Linked DNA regions of Homo sapiens: region 1 is linked to region 2. Evidence: promoter capture Hi-C in human tissues and cell types (Jung and others, 2019). All regions are on one chromosome and are shown on one strand. Each heading gives the region's core, a stretch centred on a gene start or on the middle of the fragment in contact. The rest is flanking DNA. Distances are from core to core; before and after follow the strand shown.

Region 1 (5,489 bases), core at 1,537-4,036, 52 kb before region 2:
GAGGGTCTAAGCCATTGCAATTATGCAAGAAGAAAATAAAGGTTGGAAAGGAAGAAGAAAGACTGTTCACAAATGACATGATCTTGTATGTAGAAGATTCTAGGGAATCCACCAAAAAAAAAAAAAAAAACTATTGAAACTAATAAGTGAGTTCAGCAAGATGGGAGGATACAACATCAGTATTTAAAAATCAGTTGGGCCGGGCATGGTGGCTCACGCCTGTAATCCCAGCACTTTGGGAGGCCGAGGCAGGTGGATCATGAGGTCAGGAGATCAAGACCATCCTGGCTAACACGGTGAAACCCTGTCTCCACTAAAAATACAAAAAATTAGCCAGGCGTGGTGGCGGGTGCCTGTAGTCCCAGCTACTTGGGAGGCTGAGGCAGGAGAATGGCATGAACCTGGGAGGCGGAGCTTGCAGTGAGCCAAGATTGTGCCACCGCACTCCAGCCTGGGTGACAAAGCGAGACTCCATCTCAAAAAAAAAAAAATCGTATTTCTACACACTTGCAATGAATAATCAAAAATGAAATTAAGAATATTCATAATAGCATCAAAAAGAATAAGGTGCTTAATAACATATTTAACAAAAAGTGCAAAACTTACACTCTGAAAACTACAAAACATTGCAGAAAGTAATTAAAGAAGACCTAAATAAATGGAAAAACATGCCATGTTCATGGATCAGAAGAGTTAATGCTGTTAAGATGACAATATTCCTCAAACTTGTCTGCAGATTCAGCATAATCCCTGTCAGAATCTCTGCTGACATCTTTGCAGAAATTGACAAGCTGATGCTAAGAGTTATATGAAATTTCAAGGGACCCAGAATAGCCAAAGAAATCCTGAAAAAGAATAAAGTAGAAAAACCCACATTTCTTCATTTTGAATTACAAAACAATAGTAATTAAGAAGTGTGTTACTGGCACAAGGGTAGACATAGATCATTGTATTTTTTTAAAAAATGGTGATTCCAGAAATAAATGCAAACATCTGTAGTCAACTGATTTTCAGTAAAGGTGCCAAGTCCATTCAGTGGGGAAAGAACAGTCTTTTCAACAAATGGTGCTGGGACAAGTGGATAGTCACGTGCAAAAGAATGAAGTTGGACACTTACCTTACATTATATTTAAAAAGTTGGCTGGGTATGACGGCCCATGCCTGTAGTCTTAGCACTTTGGGAGGCAAAGGGGCAGATTGCTTGAGTCCAGGAGTTTCAGACCAGCCTGGGCAACATGGCAAAGTCATGTCTCTACAGAAAAAACAAGTTAGCTGGTCATGGTCATGTGCATCTGTAGTCCCAGCTACTCAGGAGGCTATGGTGAGAGGATCACTTGAGCCCAGGAGGTCAAGGTTGTAGTGATCCATGAGCATGCCACTGTACTCCAGCCTGGGTGACAGAGCAAGACCCTATCTCAAAAAAAAGAAAAAAGAAAACAAGTTAAAATAGATGAAAGAGGCCAGGCGCGGTGGCTCACGCCTGTAATCCTAACACTTTGGGAGGCTGAGGTGGGCAGATCATAAGGTCAGGAGTTTGAGAGCAGCCTGGTCAATATGGTGAAACCCTGTCTCTACTAAAAATACAAAAATTAGCTGGGCGTGGTGGCGTGCACCTGTAGTCCCAGCTACTTGGGAGGCTGAGGCAGAAGGATCACTTGAACCCAGGAGCCGAGATTGTGCCACTGCGTTCCAGCCTGGGTGACAGAGTGAGACTCTGTCTCAAAAAAAAAAAAAAAAAAAAAAAAAAGACCTAACTATCAAAGCAAAACCTATAAAACTCTTAGAAGAAAATGGGTAAATCTTCATGAACTTGGGCTTGGCAAGCATTCTAAGATATGACATTAAAAACACAAGCAGCAAAAGAAGAGAATTTGGACTTCATTGAAATTTAAAGCTTTTGTGCTTTGAAGGATACCATCAAGAAAGGGAAAAGACAACCTACAGAATTGGAGAAAATATTTGTGAATCATATCTAATAAAGACTCAGAAATAACTTTAAAAATGGACAAAGGATCTGATTAGACATTTTCCCAAATATATAAAAATGGCCAATAAGCACATGAAAAGATGCTTGACATCATTAGTCATCAGGGAAATGCAAAGCAAAACCACAATGAGATATCACTTCACACCCACTAAGTTGGCTAAAATAAAAAAGATAGTAACAAGTGTTGACAAGAGATTGTAGAGAGATTGGAAGCCACAGATACTGCTGGTGAGAATGTAAAATGGTGCAGCCACTTTAGAAAACAGTTGCAATTTCTCAAATGATTAAACACAGAGCTAGCCTATGACCTAGAAATTCCTCTCCTAGGTATATAACCAAGTGAAATGAAGACTTATGTCCACACAGAAACTTGTAAATGAATCTCTAGCAGCATTGTTCGTAATAGCCAAAAAGTGGAAACAGCTCAAATATACATCAATAGGTGAATGGATTTTAAAATGCAGTATATCTATACAATGGAATATTATTCAGCCCCAAAAAGCAATGAAGGACGGATACACTGATACATGCTATAACACTGATGAACCTCTAAAATTTCCTGCTAAGTGAAAAAGTCATGAAAGACCACATGCTATGATCCCATCCATATAAAAGTCCAGAATAGGGAAATCTATAGAAACAGGAAGTAGGTTAGTGGTTGCTTAAAGAAAGAGTGGTAAGTAGGTTGCTTAAAGGGTCATAAGTGGGGACAATAGTTAAAAAGTTGGGGGTTTGGAGGTGATTTTTAGGTTTTCAGATGATGAAAATGTAAAATTGAGGTGGTGATGGTTGCATGTATCTTTGAGTATACTAAAAGCTACTGAATTGTACTACTGAAATAAATGAGTTATATGGTATATGAATTATATCTCAGTACAGTTGTTAATAAATAATTAACATAAGGTGCAAGATAAATTGGGAGCTTAACAAAAAGACAACCCAATTAAAAATGCTTGAAGAATCTGAATAGACATTTCCCAAAGAAGATATACAAATGGCCAAAAAGCACATGAAAAGATGCTTGACATCATTAGTCTTTAGGGAAAGGCAAGTCAAAACTGTGATGAGGTACCACTTCACAGTCACTAGCATGACTATAATAATTTTTTTAAAACTCAATAACAAATGTTGACAAGGACATGGATAAGCAAACCTTTATACATTGCTGGTGAGAATGTAAAATGGTGCAACCACTGTGAAAAATAGTTTGGTGTTTCCTCAAAAAGTTAAACATACAATTACCATATGATCCAACAATTATACTTTGTGGAATATTCCACAAACTGAAAACTGGTGCTCAAACAAATACTTGTATGTGAATATTCATAGTAGCACTATTCACAATGGTCAAAATGTGGACACAGTTGAAGCGTCCATTGACAGATGAATAGATAAACAAAATGTGGTCTATCTACACAGTGGAATATTACTCAGCCACAAAAGGGATGAAGTACTGATGCAACAAGGATGACACAGAAGATAACATATATTGTATGATACCATTTATATAAAATACACAGAACAGGGAATTCTATAGACAGAAAGCAGATGAATGGTTGTGAGAGGCTGGGGTGGGGAGGGGGATGGGGAGTGATTTCTTTCTTTCTTTTTTTTTTTTTGAGACAGTCTTGCTCTGCTGCCCAGGCTGGAGTGCAGTGGCACGATCTTGGCTCACTGCAAGCTCCACCTCCCAGGTTCACGCCATTCTCCTGCCTCGGCCTCCTGCCTCAGCCTCCCAAGTAGCTGGGACTACAGGTGCCCGCCACTATGCCCGGCTAATTTTTTTTGTATTTTTTTAGTAGAGATGGGGTTTCACCATATTAACCAGGATGGTCTCGATCTCCTGACCTTGTGATCTGCCCGCCTCGGCCTCCCAAAGTGCTGGGATTACAGGCGTGAGCCACCACGCCCAGCTGGGGAGTGATTTCTTAATGGGTATAGGGTTCTTTTATGGGGTGATGAAAGTGCTTTGGAACCAGATGGAAGTGGTGATCGCACAACATTGTGAATGTACTAAAGGCTGCTGATTTGTACACTTTAAAAAATATCTTCAGGTGTTCAATATTGCTTTCAGTCTATTTTGGTAAGATTTTTCTAGAAAATTGTTTATTTTGTCTGTTTTAAAAGTTGTTCCTTTGTGGATATCATCTGTTTGTCATTGGTGTTCTGCAGTTTCATTATGATTTATGTGTCTTTTTTCCACATAAATTTTTCAAAGTTATTCCTTTGTGGTTATCATCTGTTTGTCATTGGTGTTCTGCAGTTTCACTCTGATTTATGGGTGTTTTTCCCCTTCTGGTTCAGTCCTCAGAGATATGTGGATTTATTTTTATCCTGTATGGAGCCTGTGCTTCCTGAATTTAAGGATTCATGTCCTTCAACAGTTCTGGAAGACTGTAGCCATTATTTCTTTGAATACTGCCTCTCCTCATTTGCTTTCACCCTTCTGGAACTTTTTATTTCTAACTTTCTGGTTAAGCTATCCATTGAATTTTTATTATTATTTTTTGAGACATAGTTTCACTTTTGCCCAGGTTGAAGTGCAGTGGCACGATCATAGCTCAGATCATAGCTCACTGCAAACTTTTGACCATAGCTCACTGCAACCTCGAACTCTTGGGCTCAAGTGATCCTCCCGCCTCAGCCTCCCAAGAGGCTGGGGCTACAGGCAGATGCCACCACACCTGGCTGAAGTTTGAAAATTTTTTCAGAGAGACAGAGTCTCGCTGTGTCACCCAGGCCAGTCTTGAACTCTTGGCTCAAGTGATCCTCCTGCTTTGGCCTCCCAAAGCACTGGGATTACATGTATGAGGCACTGTGCCCAGCCTGAATTTTTAATTTTATAATCATAATGTTTATTTCTAAAATTGTTTCTTCCTCCCCTCTAAGCTTCCCAATTTTGTCTTACAATGCTTTTTTCTTATTTTTTCTTCTTGTGGCTATAATAATTTTAAACACCACTGTTTCATAGACTCCATCAGATTACTGCACTGGCTGGAGGTCTTGCTGTTGATCCTGCTCTTTGTGGTGTCTGCTGGCTCTCCCTCACAGTAAATTGGGGGGTGTGTGTGTGTGTGTGTGTGTGTGTGTGTGACGTTTTTGTGTGTAAAGATGGGTGAGTCATCTTCAAAGGGGCTTTCTCACCAGCATGGTTTTTGTATGTGCTTGCATCTGATGGTTATTATCAGCCTGGGACCAATTTTTTCTGTTAATTTCTTAACTTTCAATATTTTGGATCTTGTGGTAATGTAAGTTTGGACTTCAAACTCATGTGAACTTATAGTTATGAATTGTCTGAGTGTAGAGGTGGGGTGAGATATGAGGGAGGATAAGTCCCCCACTAAGAATCCAGCTCAAACAGCAAAGCTTCTCTGTAGCGGGAGGTAGATTCTATTAATATTCTAGCCCACTGTTTTTCTGAGGCCATACCTGTATGAGGGGGTCTCAGTTCTGATTCTTTTTCTAAAGCAAGCCCATATTTTTGTCTGCTACCCATGCCTTG
Region 2 (5,244 bases), core at 702-3,201:
CCCGGGGTCATCTCTGGGCCTTAATAGGAACTTGCCTCGGTCGATGTCAGGGATGGGGAACTGAGACTGGCGTTTGGACCTCATTGGTTTCTGGGGCCAACACTGCACCCCGGGCTGGGCTGCTGCCGCTGAGGGTTCCCGCACACACCCCCAGGTGCGCCTGAGCATCTTGGCCGAGGCGGCCCAGAAGCTGTCCGCACCTCACTTCACGGCCACCGGGTTCCCAAAGCGCACAGGCAGGGAACTGCTGCCTAGGGCAGGAGGGAACCCGAGGGGACTTTCGGCAGACCTAGGCGGCAAGAGGAGCCTCGGGCTCTTGTCAAGAGCTCCAGAGAGCAGGGGCCCTCTGAGGGAGACAGGGAGAGAGACAGCGCGCGCGAGCCAGTCTCTTGACCTGGGCTAAGGGAGGATCAGCTCTAGGGGCTCCCAGCCCTCTTGGCATGACGTAGGAAAGGCCCTCGGCTGCCCTGCCGGCCCCTGCCTGCCACCTCACCCGCCTTCGGGACCTGCTAGCCGCTCCTCCCGGGCCGGCTGCCTGGACTCTCGGAGTCGGTGGCCCTGGCGGAAATGGCGCCCCGAGCTCTCTCCGCTCTGAAACGAGCGGAAGTTTCCTGTGATTCTTTCCCCGAGGCAGAGCAGACTCTGCTCTGGAGCGACTGAGCCCAGGAAGGGCCGCTTCACTGGAATAGATCCTGACTTGCCTCGACCGGAGCGGGACTGGTCTTCCTCCCGGCTGTTTTCGGAGGGGCGTCAACGGCGGCCGGGACCCAGCGCTCTGTCCTGCAGCTCGATGCTCCTTGCCCAGCGCTGGTGTCCAGCGGCGGGCCTGCCAGGCCTTTTGTTTCCAAAGCGCTGCGTCTTTAAGATCAAGGCTGTATCCCGGGCCGTGCAGGGACCCGACCCACCACCTCGCCAAGGCTCCCTAACGCAGCATTAGAATGTTTATAAAATATTCAATTTATGTAGTCTGTCCAAGAAGCCATCGTCCCAAAATAAAATCAGCAGTCTAGACGGAGCACAGACACCAGAACTTATCAACAGTTGTCTGACTTGCATCTTCTGATGCATCTTGAGTGGGTCATAATACCAACTTTATTTTCAGTGGTGCATAAATTAATTACACGCATTTAATAACCAAAATATCATTATATTCCCCCTTTAATATCATAAAGGCTTTCCGCCAGGGAAGCACTTAATAGTGCAGGGGGCCGTAACGGGCTATTATCCTGGTGTAATGCTATTACAGAACCAATTATGCGCCATTAGACTTGCTTTTTTTGCAGTTTATGTGATTTGATCCAATCCCGCGCCCCTGACTTGAAAATTTCAGCCCGGTACTTTAGAGTTTAATTTTCACCCAGGCAGAGAGAAGGGCGGTCTCTCTCCGTTGAGTGTCTGCCTCGGATGCATTTTAAAAGTAATTGCAAAGGGTCCCACCGCATATCATTTGCATCGAGAAGCGAACATAAATTCAGGGACCCCTTGCTGAGAACAAAATCAAACTTTCCTTTTGTACGATCGTTTGGAAAGGGAAGCCGTGTGCAAAGAGTCCCCCCAAAACCCATCCGGCGGCGACAATTAGCAGCGCTTTGCCAATTTGCAGCCCGGGAGTCACCAGGCCTTTGATAAGGGCAGCCCAAACCAGGCTCTCTCGGAGAAAGGTTTGCCTCTGAGGGGACATGAGGTGGGGGGTGGGGCCTAGTGTGTTTTCGGAAAATGTATGTTTTTGGGGGTGATGGTGGTGGTGGTTGTATCGTTCTCTTTTAAAAGAGGAAAAAGCATTCCTGATGTTTGCTGAGAAATGACGGATTTTTTTTTTAACACCACGTGGGCCATTTGTAAGGCCCAATAGACCTATCCAAGTTACTCGCTGTAGACAGCGCTGGAAATAATCAGATTAAGGCCAATTATGCGTGAGATTATAAAGGCGAGTGCTGAGCGGCGGCGCGCGCTGCAGACAGACAGCAAGACATCTGGCCACTTCCCGAGTCACTTCTTTGGTCCTGCGGGCGCCAGCCGCGCCGAGCCCCGCCCGCCGCCAGCCGAGCAGGGCTTGCGGATCGGAGGCGGTCACGCTCCGACCTCCTCGACCGCCGCCCGCCGAGGTATGCTCGGCTCCTGACCCACTCGCCGGGCCCCGAGCGCCGGGCCTTGGGGCTCGGCTGCCTTCCTGGCCTGAGCTGCAGCTCGCAGATGGCCTTGCGCGCTAGCCGGACCTGGCTGCGGTGGCCCGGGTGCAGGGCTTCTGGCTGGGACCCCAGAGAGCCAGAAACTACGCTGCGGGGTTTGGTGCTGGGGCCAGGGTGAGGGCACGGCCGTCCGGGAGGTGGACACACCCGAAGGACTGCCCTGTGGGGTTGCTGCTTGCGACGGGGCTGCCGCCTTCCCTCCTGTCCCCCGCAGTGAGATGAGGGCGTTGGGAGGGACTTTCCAGGAGGGGAGCGCCGGGTGCGCCCTAGGGCTGGGCGGGAGCGCTGGCAGAGGGAGACTTGAAGCTCTATCGCTGTTTGCTTTGCAGCCAGGCAGGAGCAACGCGCGCGGGTCCGTTCTGCTGCCACCCTCCCAGGTCTCGGCCGTCCAGCCGATCTGACAGCCGGCGATGTTTTATTTCCACTGCCCGCCACAGCTAGAGGGTAAGTAAGCGCTGCGCCCCAGGGTCTCCATGAAGCCAGAGCCGGCCAGAAAGGGCCGGAGCGGCAGCAGGGCTGGTGGGTGGCTGGGTCCCCGCCCTGCGGGGGGCGCAGCCGCCTGCCGGTGAGTAGGGGCCTCCCTGGACCCCTCCCTACACCCCACTCCAGGCCCGCTCCAGCTCCCCGCCCCGTCGCCACCTGCCTCCCAGCTCCCTCCCCGCCTGGGCCAGGACGCCCCGGGCTAGGCGTGCCGCGGGGACCGGCCGAATCCTCCCAGCACAGATGCTGGTGTCACGCCTCTAATTGGGGCTCCGCAACCCAGGGGGCCGCATCAATCTTTCACGGTGCTTCTGCAAACATCCCAGAAAGCAAAGGCGAGTGGACCCGCCGCGTCCTGGCCCAGATCACGAGCTGCACGAGCCTACAAGGGCCCGTCGCTGGGCTGCTCTCACTGGGGCCGCTGGCGAGAACACTGCAGGGGCCTCTTCCGCCCTGGATTCTGGGCAGCTCAATTCCCTTCCCGGCCTCCTGGCCGTCCCTGGAACCAGGTGGCCCTGCCCACCACCTGCCCGGACTGACCTAGCATGGCTCCTTCTCTGTGACTCACTAACCCTAAATGTCGACCACTCCCCACTCCCCAGGCCAGAATTTCCATCTTTGAGTGTCTCCAGGCCTGAGAAGAAATTTCCCCTCAGGATCCCCAGTCTGGCTTCTGCACCCAGTTGTTAGTGGGGGCGTGGGTTGGTGAGAAGGGGACAGTTGGGACCTCAGCATGCCCCTGCTCAGGACCCGAGGGATCCAAGGATGGGGTCTTCACATCAGGGGGCCAATTAGTAGCCATCAGGTGAGCCAATGCCACACTGTGGGCTTTAATGGGGCCTTCTGCAGAGCAGCAGTCTCAGCACTGGGGTATTGGGACTTTTGTAACCGTCGGACTGGCATTTGGCAACCTACTCGTTTGATTTATTATTGTGGTGGGAGAATTTGGGAAGCCAAGTAGTTGTGGGAGACAAGGGGCAGGGTATATGTTGTGAGGCGCTAGGAGACCTGAGACTTCAGGTGATGCTTGTCAGTCTTGCTGCAGGCTGCCCTGAGCAGTGGCTGAGCCTCAGAAAGTTTGTTTTTGTTTTTCTCATAAAAGCTCTTAAGAGTCCAATAGGATTTTCTAAAGGAGGCTAATGAGGACCAGTGTTTAAGCCCTGCTAGCTCTGTCAGCATTCCTAGGAAGGGAAGGCCACACATTTGCCTGCATTTCACATTTTATCCCCAAGTTCCCATGCAGGGTGGGTTTTATGGAAGGGTGGGAGACGTGCATCCCCTGACAGTGTACCCTAGGGGATGAGGGAGACTTTCTGTATGTTAAGGGTGCCTTCTCTGTGCATCTGAACCAGGGGTCTGGACTAATTGCCAGCCAGTGTCCCACCCTTCTGGTCAAAGTGGGTAAGGCAGAAGTTTGGGCATTTGGCAGGTAGGGGACGTCATGAATGTCTGTCTGCGGGGTGGACTGCAGCAGTGAGTTAGGGAGAGTCCTGGCCTGGCCTGCGGTGACCCCAGCTCTCAGCCCAGCTCAGCTGGCTTACTGTGCTCCCCACACCCTGGGCACATCCCACCTCAGTGCTGACTCTGTGATATAACCAGAAGAAAAGGAGATGGGTCTTTAAGAGCCTTTCATCCCTTTGTAGATGTGATTCTATGCCAGTTTTGCAGAAAGGAGTAATTTAGTTTAGTTTAGTGTTGCTGGGTGAAAGGGATCTCCCGCAAATGGAAAAGTTGAGAACAGACCCTTGGAATATGACATAATTATAGCCTATCATCTTTTTTATTTTAATTTTTTGTTAATCTAGATAGGCATAAGGGAGAAAAGAAAGAAAGGCTCATAATCTTACTTCTCAGATAATTTTGCTGATGTTACATTAAAAAGTACTACTGGCACCTGCCTGAGAAGTTTGAATACAACAGAAACTTATACATTGAAAAGCAAAATCCTCCTTTTCCACCTCTTTTCCTAAAAGTATCTGCTATTTTTTTTGTGATTCCTTCAAGAAAAACATGATTTAATTCTCATTTATGTATTTTTAAAATATGTGTTTTGCCTTATTTGCACTGAAATTATATTGCTACATCATTCTGTACTTTGCTTTTTTTACTTTGTAATATATCTTGGAGATTTGTTCATGCCAATGCATATAGATCTACTGATTTCTTTTAAACTGCTGTGTAGTATTCCATTGTATGTTGTGAAGAAAGCATCTGCTGATGGGCATTTTGGTTGTTTTCATTTTTTTTCAACTACAGTATTTCCAGAAGCACTTTTTTTTTCTATTTTGGCACACATTACAAATATATTTATAGATTAAATACCTGTATGTGTACTTACATTTTTGATGGATGTTGTCAAATTACCTTCTAATAAGGCTGTACCCAATTTGTACTCCTACAAATGGTGAATAAGCCTGCACATCTTATGATACTCATATCTGTACTGGGTGTCTTTATGCACCTCATTTTTTCTTCAAAATGTTGAAAATAATATTCCATTGTTCTGTTGTGTTTGGTTGAATTATCCTCAAGGTTTAGCATTTTCATAATATTATCGACTATTCTACTTATTTTT

Evidence for each region. The method cuts DNA at HindIII sites, captures the fragments that hold promoters and counts their contacts. A contact is called where the count stands out against the background at its distance.
Region 1: a contact is called between a fragment that was not itself captured here and the fragment with the promoter of DRGX in region 2, in 2 of the 25 tissues and cell types used here (pancreas and spleen).

The regions. Positions count from the first base shown.
Region 1 is chr10:49,445,819-49,451,307 of GRCh38, reverse strand. It overlaps a transcript of ERCC6 not described here. Among named protein-coding and RNA genes, the nearest start is that of DRGX, 52 kb to the right of the region's middle. The HindIII fragment of the contact is 5,638 bases long and covers 1-5,489 here.
Region 2 is chr10:49,392,796-49,398,039 of GRCh38, reverse strand. DRGX (dorsal root ganglia homeobox) reads left to right here and starts at 1,951. Exons shown (of 7, transcript NM_001276451.2): 1 at 1,951-2,105; 2 at 2,519-2,633. The coding sequence starts at 2,600. The HindIII fragment of the contact is 28,897 bases long and covers 1-5,244 here.